Linked DNA regions of Homo sapiens: region 2 is linked to region 1. Evidence: promoter capture Hi-C in human tissues and cell types (Jung and others, 2019). All regions are on one chromosome and are shown on one strand. Each heading gives the region's core, a stretch centred on a gene start or on the middle of the fragment in contact. The rest is flanking DNA. Distances are from core to core; before and after follow the strand shown. Region 1 holds the start of TEKT4 (tektin 4). Region 2 overlaps LOC105373487 (a long non-coding RNA gene).

Evidence for each region. Contacts are between HindIII fragments. The study calls those that stand out against the background at their distance.
Region 2: a fragment that was not itself captured here is called in contact with the fragment with the promoter of TEKT4 in region 1 in 3 of the 25 tissues and cell types used here (dorsolateral prefrontal cortex, lymphoblastoid cells and mesendoderm cells).

What each region holds. Positions count from the first base shown.
Region 1 is chr2:94,869,410-94,873,616 of GRCh38, reverse strand. TEKT4 (tektin 4) reads right to left here and starts at 2,187. Exons shown (of 6, transcript NM_144705.4): 1 at 1,540-2,187; 2 at 27-97. The coding sequence starts at 2,037. LOC442028 (a long non-coding RNA gene) reads left to right here. Exons shown (of 10, transcript NR_037597.1): 9 at 65-228; 10 at 2,920-4,207. RefSeq lists enhancers at 1,850-2,363, 2,877-3,390. The HindIII fragment of the contact is 10,124 bases long and covers 1-4,207 here.
Region 2 is chr2:94,959,267-94,963,473 of GRCh38, reverse strand. It overlaps LOC105373487 (a long non-coding RNA gene), which reads right to left. Exons shown (of 3, transcript XR_923074.3): 3 at 1,048-4,207. Among named protein-coding and RNA genes, the nearest start is that of MAL, 64 kb to the left of the region's middle. The HindIII fragment of the contact is 6,517 bases long and covers 1-4,207 here.

The DNA.
Region 1 (4,207 bases), core at 938-3,437:
CATCCCTTGGGCAGCCCTCTACCCACCGGATCTGGCTCACTGCTTGCATGATGGTTCTCTTCAGCAGCTCCTGAATGTTCCGGATGAGCTCGGCTTCCTGAGGGAGGAGACGCCCTGAGCACCAGAGCCAGTCCCTGGTGAGGATCCCAGGAGGCCCAGCTGCTGCAGGCCTTGGTCAACACCTGAGCAACCACAAGGAGTTGAATGCCGGGCCTGAGCTCTGACTGTGTAAGTTCTGCTCTCTCACTGGGTTTATCTTGGGCTTTTGGGCATTCTCCTTGGTGCGTTGTAAGTGGGGTGTTTTCCTCCAGGGCCTTCTGTGGGCTGCTGGGAAGGTCCCTCAGCGGCAGTTCCCACGCCCCAGGCTTCAGGAGTCATCGCTGCTGCTCACTCAGTGCACCTGGGAACGTTGGCCTGCCCTTGGCCTCTGGACAGCCCCTGAGGACCCAAACTCTGGGGGCCCAGATGCCCGCCCAGGCTGCCCCTCAGGGCTCTGTGCTGGGAAAGGCCATCTTCACACCAAGAACAGGAGAAGGACCCTGTGTTTCTTCTTATTGCCTGGCCAGTTTAATTTGCTGTGTGTAGGAACAAGCCTTTTCTCTGTGATTGGGGTCTTTGCCTCAACCACTGGGTACTTCCTTGTGTGCCAGGGCCCGGGTCCTGCGCCCCTCTATCCCTGGGTTTGCCTCTCCGTGCACTGTCAGTGTCTCCATCAGTTGGCAGGTGCCCTTGTTGCGGGCAGAGAGTTTGCGGGAGCTGCAGGAGTTCTTGAGGCACTGAGAGAGTGCAGGGGGAAGGGCCTGCAGAAGGGTAAAGAAGGGAGGAGGGAAGGCATGAGGGGAGGGAGGGACTCAAGGGTTCTTGCCTGAGCTTGGGGTATGGCAGGAGACCAGCTGCCCCCACCCCACATCTTTCACGAATGTCTACAGGCCTGTAGTGGTTCTCAGGGAGGCCCCAGGCTCTGAGAGGTCAGAGAATTCTCCAGAGCCAGCATCTGGGCCAGGACTGAGTTACTCTCTCACCCTGTGGGGCTGCCCCACAGACAAGCTGGGGTGGATTGGGAAGTTATAGGGGACATGGAGGAGAGGGGACCTGTGGGTGCAGATCTTTGTGTCCCCGGCTCTGTATAGGATGAATGGGAGCAGTGGCTCCCAGCCCACCCCACCTTACCTGTCCACACCTGCAGTGCTGGCCCAGACCTGGGTTTCCACCTTGGGAGCAACTGTCCCAGCGAGGGAGGGTCTCTGGGGAGGTGCCTTGTGGCTTAGCCCAGGGAGCCCAGGGTCAGGATGACTGTGCCAGGACTCAAAGGGATTAGAGGAGGAGAGGAGAAACAGCTGCTTGGAAGTCAGGGGTCTTCTGGGGCAAAGCTGCCTCCTGTCACTAAGGGGCCAGATTTCGGGACTCAGGGGTCTCACGTGCAGAGGGCTGGGCTCCCGCGTGCTTGCAGCAGCCACGTGGCTTGTCCACATGAACTGCGGGGGGGGGGGCTCCTCCTCTCTGCGCCCACAAATCCCGGCCACCCAAGGGTGCTGGCACCTTCAGCAGCTCCGTTTCCACATGGTCGCGCACGAGGTTGGGGTGCTCGCGGCGCTCACGGCACTGCAGGTTGTCAGTGGTGATGGAGAAGGGCACCTCTGTGGCGTCCAGGGCGCGCTCCAGCCGTTGCTTCTGGGCCAGGAGCAAGTTGGTCTCCGCAGCCAGCGCCTCCATCTCACGCTGCAGCTCCGACTTCCAGCTGTGCGTGTCCTGCAGTCGCTCGCCCACTGTGCGCGTGGAGTCTTGCTGCGTGCGCTGCGCCAGCGCCTGGGTCTCTGTGGCCAGCTGCTGGCTCTCGTGCCGCTGCCGCTCCGACTGGTCGCGGTCGGCGAAGGCCTGGTGGTAGCGAGCATAGCAGTTCTGGAACCACTCCTCCAGCAGGTACTTGGAGGTGCGGAAGCTGGCGGTGGCCAGGCCGGAGGACGTGTAGGCGCCCGTGTTACGGGCCACGTCGTACTCTTTGCAGGGCAGCTCGCAGGGCGGCACTGTCTGCGCCATGGTGCCTGCCGCCCACCAGGGCCAGGGGAGTGAGGACTGTGTGTGGTCAGCCGGTTGCGGTCAGCCTAGTGCGGTCAGCGGGGCAGCTCCAACGGCTCAGTCCCAGAGCAGGACGCGGCTCCCAGTCGCTTGGGTGACACTGTGTAAACCAAGAGCTTCCTGTTGCCAAGAAACGGGATCTCTTCTCCAGTAGCTAGGGGAGGGGCATTCAGGGTGGTGGGCAGAACTGCCCTCTTAAAGGGCCAGGCAGCCCCAGCCCCACCATCCCTGTCCCCGCCTCGGGGCAATCAACAGTGGCCAAGGGTTCCTGTCACTTAGAGGATCCTGGGGCCAGCCCGTCTCCAGCCTCTGAGTCCCACCCTTAGGGTTCAGGGTGTGGGTGGGGACCTACTGCCCTGGCCCCTTCCTTGGTTCATCCATTTGTTCCTGGTTTGCGCTCTGATCCTGTCCTGTGCGGAGCTCCGCGCTCAGGGTGAACAAGACAGGAGACTCTGCTCAGTTGCAGCCACCTCAGGGCAGAGGGCTGTGGCTGTCGTGTGGGTGTTGGGTGTGCTGACTGATAGTGTTACTTGATGCCGTACAGGTGGCTGCTCTCCCTGCCCTCCTGGCCCCAACAGCAGCCTGGTAGCACAGGGAGGGTTCCAGGCCAGGTCCCCTCGGGGGCAGTCTGAGGCAGTTCCTGCAGGAACTCTGCTCCATTTTCTCCTGCACCTAGTGCCTGAGAGCCAGGCCCTGGCCTCTGGCCTTCTCCTCCCAAGTCCAAGCCAGGGTCCCCTCAGGCTGGGCACAGCGGGGAGGGAGTCTGAGTGTGCTCTTCGCTGGGGAGTTGAATTCAGCCTCTGGGTAAGTGTCCAGAGTCAGACGCCCAAATCTGCCCCACAGGGCGGAGGCAGGTCCTGTGCTGCGGAGGCTGCCCTCAAAGCCATTCAGGGCCAGGCTGCCTGGCGGAGGCTGGATGGGCAGGAAGCGCCCCAGGACACATCGGAGTCCCCCTAACCTGGGGCCAGGGGAGCCCCAGCCTAGGCGCGATTCCCCACACGGCCAGCGGAGGGCGACGTTGGTCTGGCACTGAGAAGCCTGCGGCTCCTGGCTCGGCCTCCCCTCCGTCTGCCTGGCGCATGCAGTCCTGGGGACCCCCAGCCCCTCCGGCCTCCTCTTCTCTGAGAGCCCCCCACCAGAAAGTCCTCACTAGGAAGTCCATACCCTTCCTACAGCACAGACCTCTGGGCCCCTGTTCTCTCCACCTTCACCCCCTCTCCCACCACAGCCCACACCCTCACTCCAGCCACAGGAGCCGGAGCTCCTCCTGGGCCATTCCCACCACCCCGCCCAGGGTCTCTCCAGCCCCACCATGTGCCGGCCAGTGCCCTCCTCCTGGACCTGACCTCCCCCCGTCCTGGCCTCTCCCGCGGCCAGAACCCTCAGTCCATGCTGCTGTCACCACGGTGCGCCTGGCCTGACACAGCCTCCTGATGGGGCTTTTGAGGACAGCAGCCCGGAGACTTACCCTAACCCAGGCCGAGTCAGAACCTGTGGCAGGCGGCCTGGGAACCTCTTCTTACTGTCCATCAAAATTGGGAGGTCAGGGGACCTTCAGGGACTGGTGTGGTCTGAGAAACATCCTCGAGCCTCGCCATGACTCAGTTTCCCCAGATGGCAGCAGGCTGGAGCCCACACGCAGGGCAGGATGCCAGGCTCCACCTTTTGTCTGGAACCTGCATTCACTGGGCACCTCTCTTTAGGCAGAGCAGAGCAGAGCTGCCCGTGTTTGTCCCCTGATCTGTGGCCCCAGGAGCCCGAGAGACCACCTGAGCCAACGAGAAGGCCTCTGGGCCAGAGCCCAGCTCTGCGAAGTGGGAGACTTCTCAGCCTCCACTTCCAGGTGCCCTGAAGTCGTTGGCAGGGGGTGCTGCCTGCTTGGGGCTCCCAGACTAAGGGAACACATTCATGTGGTGACCACGATAGGCCCTGCAGGCTGAGGCACAGGATTTGACCAAGGACGCATCAGAGATAGGAGACTGGGCCCTCACTCCTGCCAGCTGCAAACTCCCAAAGCCCCCAGCCCTCTCATGGGGTGAAGATGCCCTGAAGGACACTCCAGTGTGCTCCCACCTCTGGGTTCTGCCAGCCAGAGAGTGGGACCCTCAGGCCACATGTGTCTTGCTGGATC
Region 2 (4,207 bases), core at 817-3,316, 90 kb before region 1:
TCCTCCTCACCCTTTTTTATAGTTCTTCAGACTCACCCCACCCCATCCCGTCTCTTCCCTAAGTACCACAGAGTGGGCTCTGCAGCTCCTGCTGCCTCCTGTGTGCTCATCCCTGGGACTCACTAGTGCTTTGATGATGAAGTCCAAATTCCTAATGTGTTGAAACACTGCCAGATGACAATCTAGCAAGCTGCCATTGTGAGTGCATTCTGGGAATCCTGGGCTGATTTCAGTTCCATATTACTGGATGTTCTCTGGCATCCAGGAGTATTGGCAAATAAACATCTAGAATTTGTATTGAAAATTCATGCAAAAACAATTGTCAAAAACAAACCTAATTTCTTCTTTTTCTTAATTTTATTTATTTATTTATTATTATTATACTTTAAGTTTTAGGGTACATGTGCACAATGTGCAGGTTAGTTACATATGTATACATGTGCCATGCTGGTGCACTGCACCCACCAACTCGTCATCTAGCATTAGGTATTTTATCCTGAGTTTTATAAAAAATACAATGTGAACTTAACCAATAATGTAATACAATTTTAAAGGTGTTTATCTTATTGGTTATTACATGTATTAATAATTGACTGATATTTAAAAATTATGTCAGCCAGGCACAGTGGCTCTTGCCTGTAAATCCAGCAATTTGGGAGGCTGAGGTGGGTGGATCAAGAGGTCAGGAGTTTGAGACCAGTCTGACCAACATGGTGAAACCCTGTCTCTACTAAATATACAAAAAATTAGCCGGGTGTGGTGGCGGGCACCTATAATCTCAGCTACTCAGGAGGCTGAGGCACAAGAATCGCTTGAACCCAGGAGGTGGAGGTTGCAGTGAGCCGAGATTGTGTCACTGCACTCTAGCCTAGACTACAGAGCATGACTCCATCTCAAAATACATATATACACACAAACACACACACATATATATAAAATATATACATATATATAATATGTGTATATATGATATATACATTGTATATATATGTATATGTATTTTATATATACACCAAAAATGTAAATGACAAATAAACCAACACAGAGTTTATGCATAAATACTATGTACATTTAATTAATGTATTTGGCAAGAATGGCATTTACATTTAGTTTTACCAAAACATGCATTTAGATATATTTGTTTATTGGCATTGGGATAGAGAAACAATCACATAGAAAAACATTATTTTGCACTACATCATAGTGTAAAACAAAATAATTTCAATTAAATTCAATAACTATAACAGTAGTAAATAAATTCAGGTTTTGTTTTGGTATTTGATGTGTTCATTTTTGTATTTCCCTATGTACCTGTAAGTACTGGGCATATGTGTGTATGTGTATGTGTATGTGTGATTATGAAGTTCTGAAATATATTATTAACCTGTATAGTTGTGTAAATTGAAGAGCAGAGACTGGGGCTATGCCTGAGTCTGGGGTAGTGGCTGGTCCTGCACACCTCAAAGCCTGTGGAGAAGCCAAGTGCAGTTTTACAAACTCAGCTGTTTTCTCATTCAAGTGGGGTGACCTCCACTGCCTCCGATTTCTGCTAAGATACTGTGGGGGTCTGTGAGATATTAAGATATTTTTCCATTATTGTATTTTTTTCTATTTCACCCTTTATATCTCTTAAAGTTTGCTTAATGCAGATATATTTTTAAAAATGTTAAAAAGATGTAAAATATATTGCTAAGTGATTTTCATGGCACAATCACATATTAAGTAATTATGCTTCTCTAAACTCTTTTGTTGCCACTAAACTCCAGGAGTCTCACATCTGCTCTGGGCCCTGTCCTATCCTAAGGCATCCCACCTTAGAGCTTGCTATGTAGTAGGAGACATTCCAATTGGGTTCTCCTTCTACTGATAAAAAACAGCCCAGTTCTGGTCCTGCATCTCTGGGAGAGGAGTACCAGCCCTGGGATTTCCAGGTGTTTCCACTTGGTAATCAGTACTGAACACAAGATTCAGTATGGGCTTTAAGCTATACTAGATTTTTCTTGTTGCTATTTTAAAAGCTTATTCATGGAGAATTAGAGATAGTGAGTATAAGTGGATGTGAGTGAGAGGAACAGTGGATACATTTGGCAGTTTCTAACCATGCCTATGTATGTGAAGGTGTCAAGTGAGGTTCAGCTGGTGGAGTCTGGAGAAGGCCTGAGACAGCCTGAGGGTTTTGAGAGTCTTCTGTGCAGCCCGTGGATTCAAATTTAGTAGCTACTGAATGAGAAGCTACTGAATTAGCTGAGTCCACCAGGCTTCAGAGAAGGTGCTGGAGTGAGCAGTAAATACGAAGTATGATGAATCAGTTATACCATTCAAAATCTGTGAAGGACAGATTCACCATTTCCAAAGACAATGCCAAGAACTCACTGTACCTGTGAATGAACAGTCAGAGCTGAGAACATGGCCTCGTATTATTGTACATAAGGTACCAAGTGAGGGAACACCAGTGTCAGCCAAAACGCAAAATATCCTGCAGAGAGAAGGAAGGAGCCTGGGCTGCAGAGGGCACTCACTCCCACAGAAGTTAGGGGCATCCCCAGGGCAGGTGCAGTTGAAGGTCAAGGGCCGCTTTCCTTCAGGGTCTGTGGCTTCCTCTCCATCGAACAGTTTCCCTGGGAGCCTCTCTATATTTGTGTTTCTGTGCCTACCACTGAGGTCTCTAGATTAGAAAAGTTTATTTAAAAAATTTCTTATTTGTCCCAAAGTGAGATGTAAGTAAGGCAGGCAGAAAAACACACAGGAGGCTGGGTGAGGCTGTAGACACTGTCAGGCCAGGATGCCAGTCTTACAACTAGTGATGGGGAAATGTGGGAGTTTGGTGGTGCTTCCTAGTTAACCTGTGGAGCAAGTTAAGTCCGGCAAGGCTGTTGATGACTTCCTGATTACAGATGCCCATCAGGAATCTCCGATGAGTCCCAGGAGCAGCCATAGCTTAACATCTCCCCTGTGCACAACCATTTTTTTGGGAGGAGCTCCCAGGGTTAATGCTCTTGGCACAAACCAGGTGATATATGTCAGAGAGCAGAAGCTGGTTTCCTGTGTAAACATCAATTTCTGAATCAGTGTTTTAAATATTTTGAAACACAGCCACTAGATCATATTTCAACTCTTTTATCTCTGTTAAAAAAAAAGTCAAAATGTATTTCATTTTGTGCATGCACCATTTGGGATTCCCAACATAAATGCAAATTAGTTCTTGTTTTTTCACATTCTTACGGCCATTTTTCACCATGAGGATTGTGCATTTTAACCATTCTAATAGGTGAGCAATGGAATCTAATTTTTGTTTCAATGCTCATATCCCTAATGAAAAATTTATATTTAACAATTTTTATATAATGTTGTTGAGTTTACTTGCATATTCATTATAGAAATCAATTCTTTTAATTCTTTACTGAATTAAAAGAAATTATTTAACAAAAATGCTACTTGAAAATATTTTCTCCAAGTCTGTGATTTGTCTTTTTAGTTGCTTATCAGTGTTTATTGCAGAAAAATGTGTGTTTGCAAATTTGGATACATTACCATGAATAATTGTATTCACTCACAGACCATGTTTTTGGCATTATTTCTAAAAACTGGTTATAAAATAAACTAGCAGTGATTTTTTTTCCCATCTCTATAATCTCAGACCACAATCAACACGAGTGTTTAAACCTCACCTACATGATGAGAATACTATCAGCCTAAAATATTTTGAATAACTCTGTAAGGAAGATTCGTCCTTCTTTTCACATTTTATTTACTCATCTATTATAATAGTATTGGCTTAAAGATGCTTATTTTATACTATGAGGAAGATCCATGCTTCATTATTTATGCTTTTGCTCAAATCATCACAGTTTTTTTTATGTGCTTGGAGTTCATTTAATTTGGATCCTGTATCCTTACATGACATCTCCTCCTTTTGTTTTTGAACACTTCCCTATTTTCTGGTATTATAAGAAATCCTAAGCTTATTTTCCGTATTATCTTTTCCATACATAGAATCTGCTGTTTTTCTGAAGATTACTGGCTTCTGGTGTTGAAGAATGGTATTAAAATAGAGAATTGTGAAGTTGGGTGTATATACTGTTAGTGGGATGTAAGTGCCTCAAGGACCTCTCAACTAAATGGCTTAGAAAATGTGCAGGTGTTTATTAACCCACGTTTAGAGATACATCTCGACTATTTACATATCTAGTCTTCCGTACCTGTAACA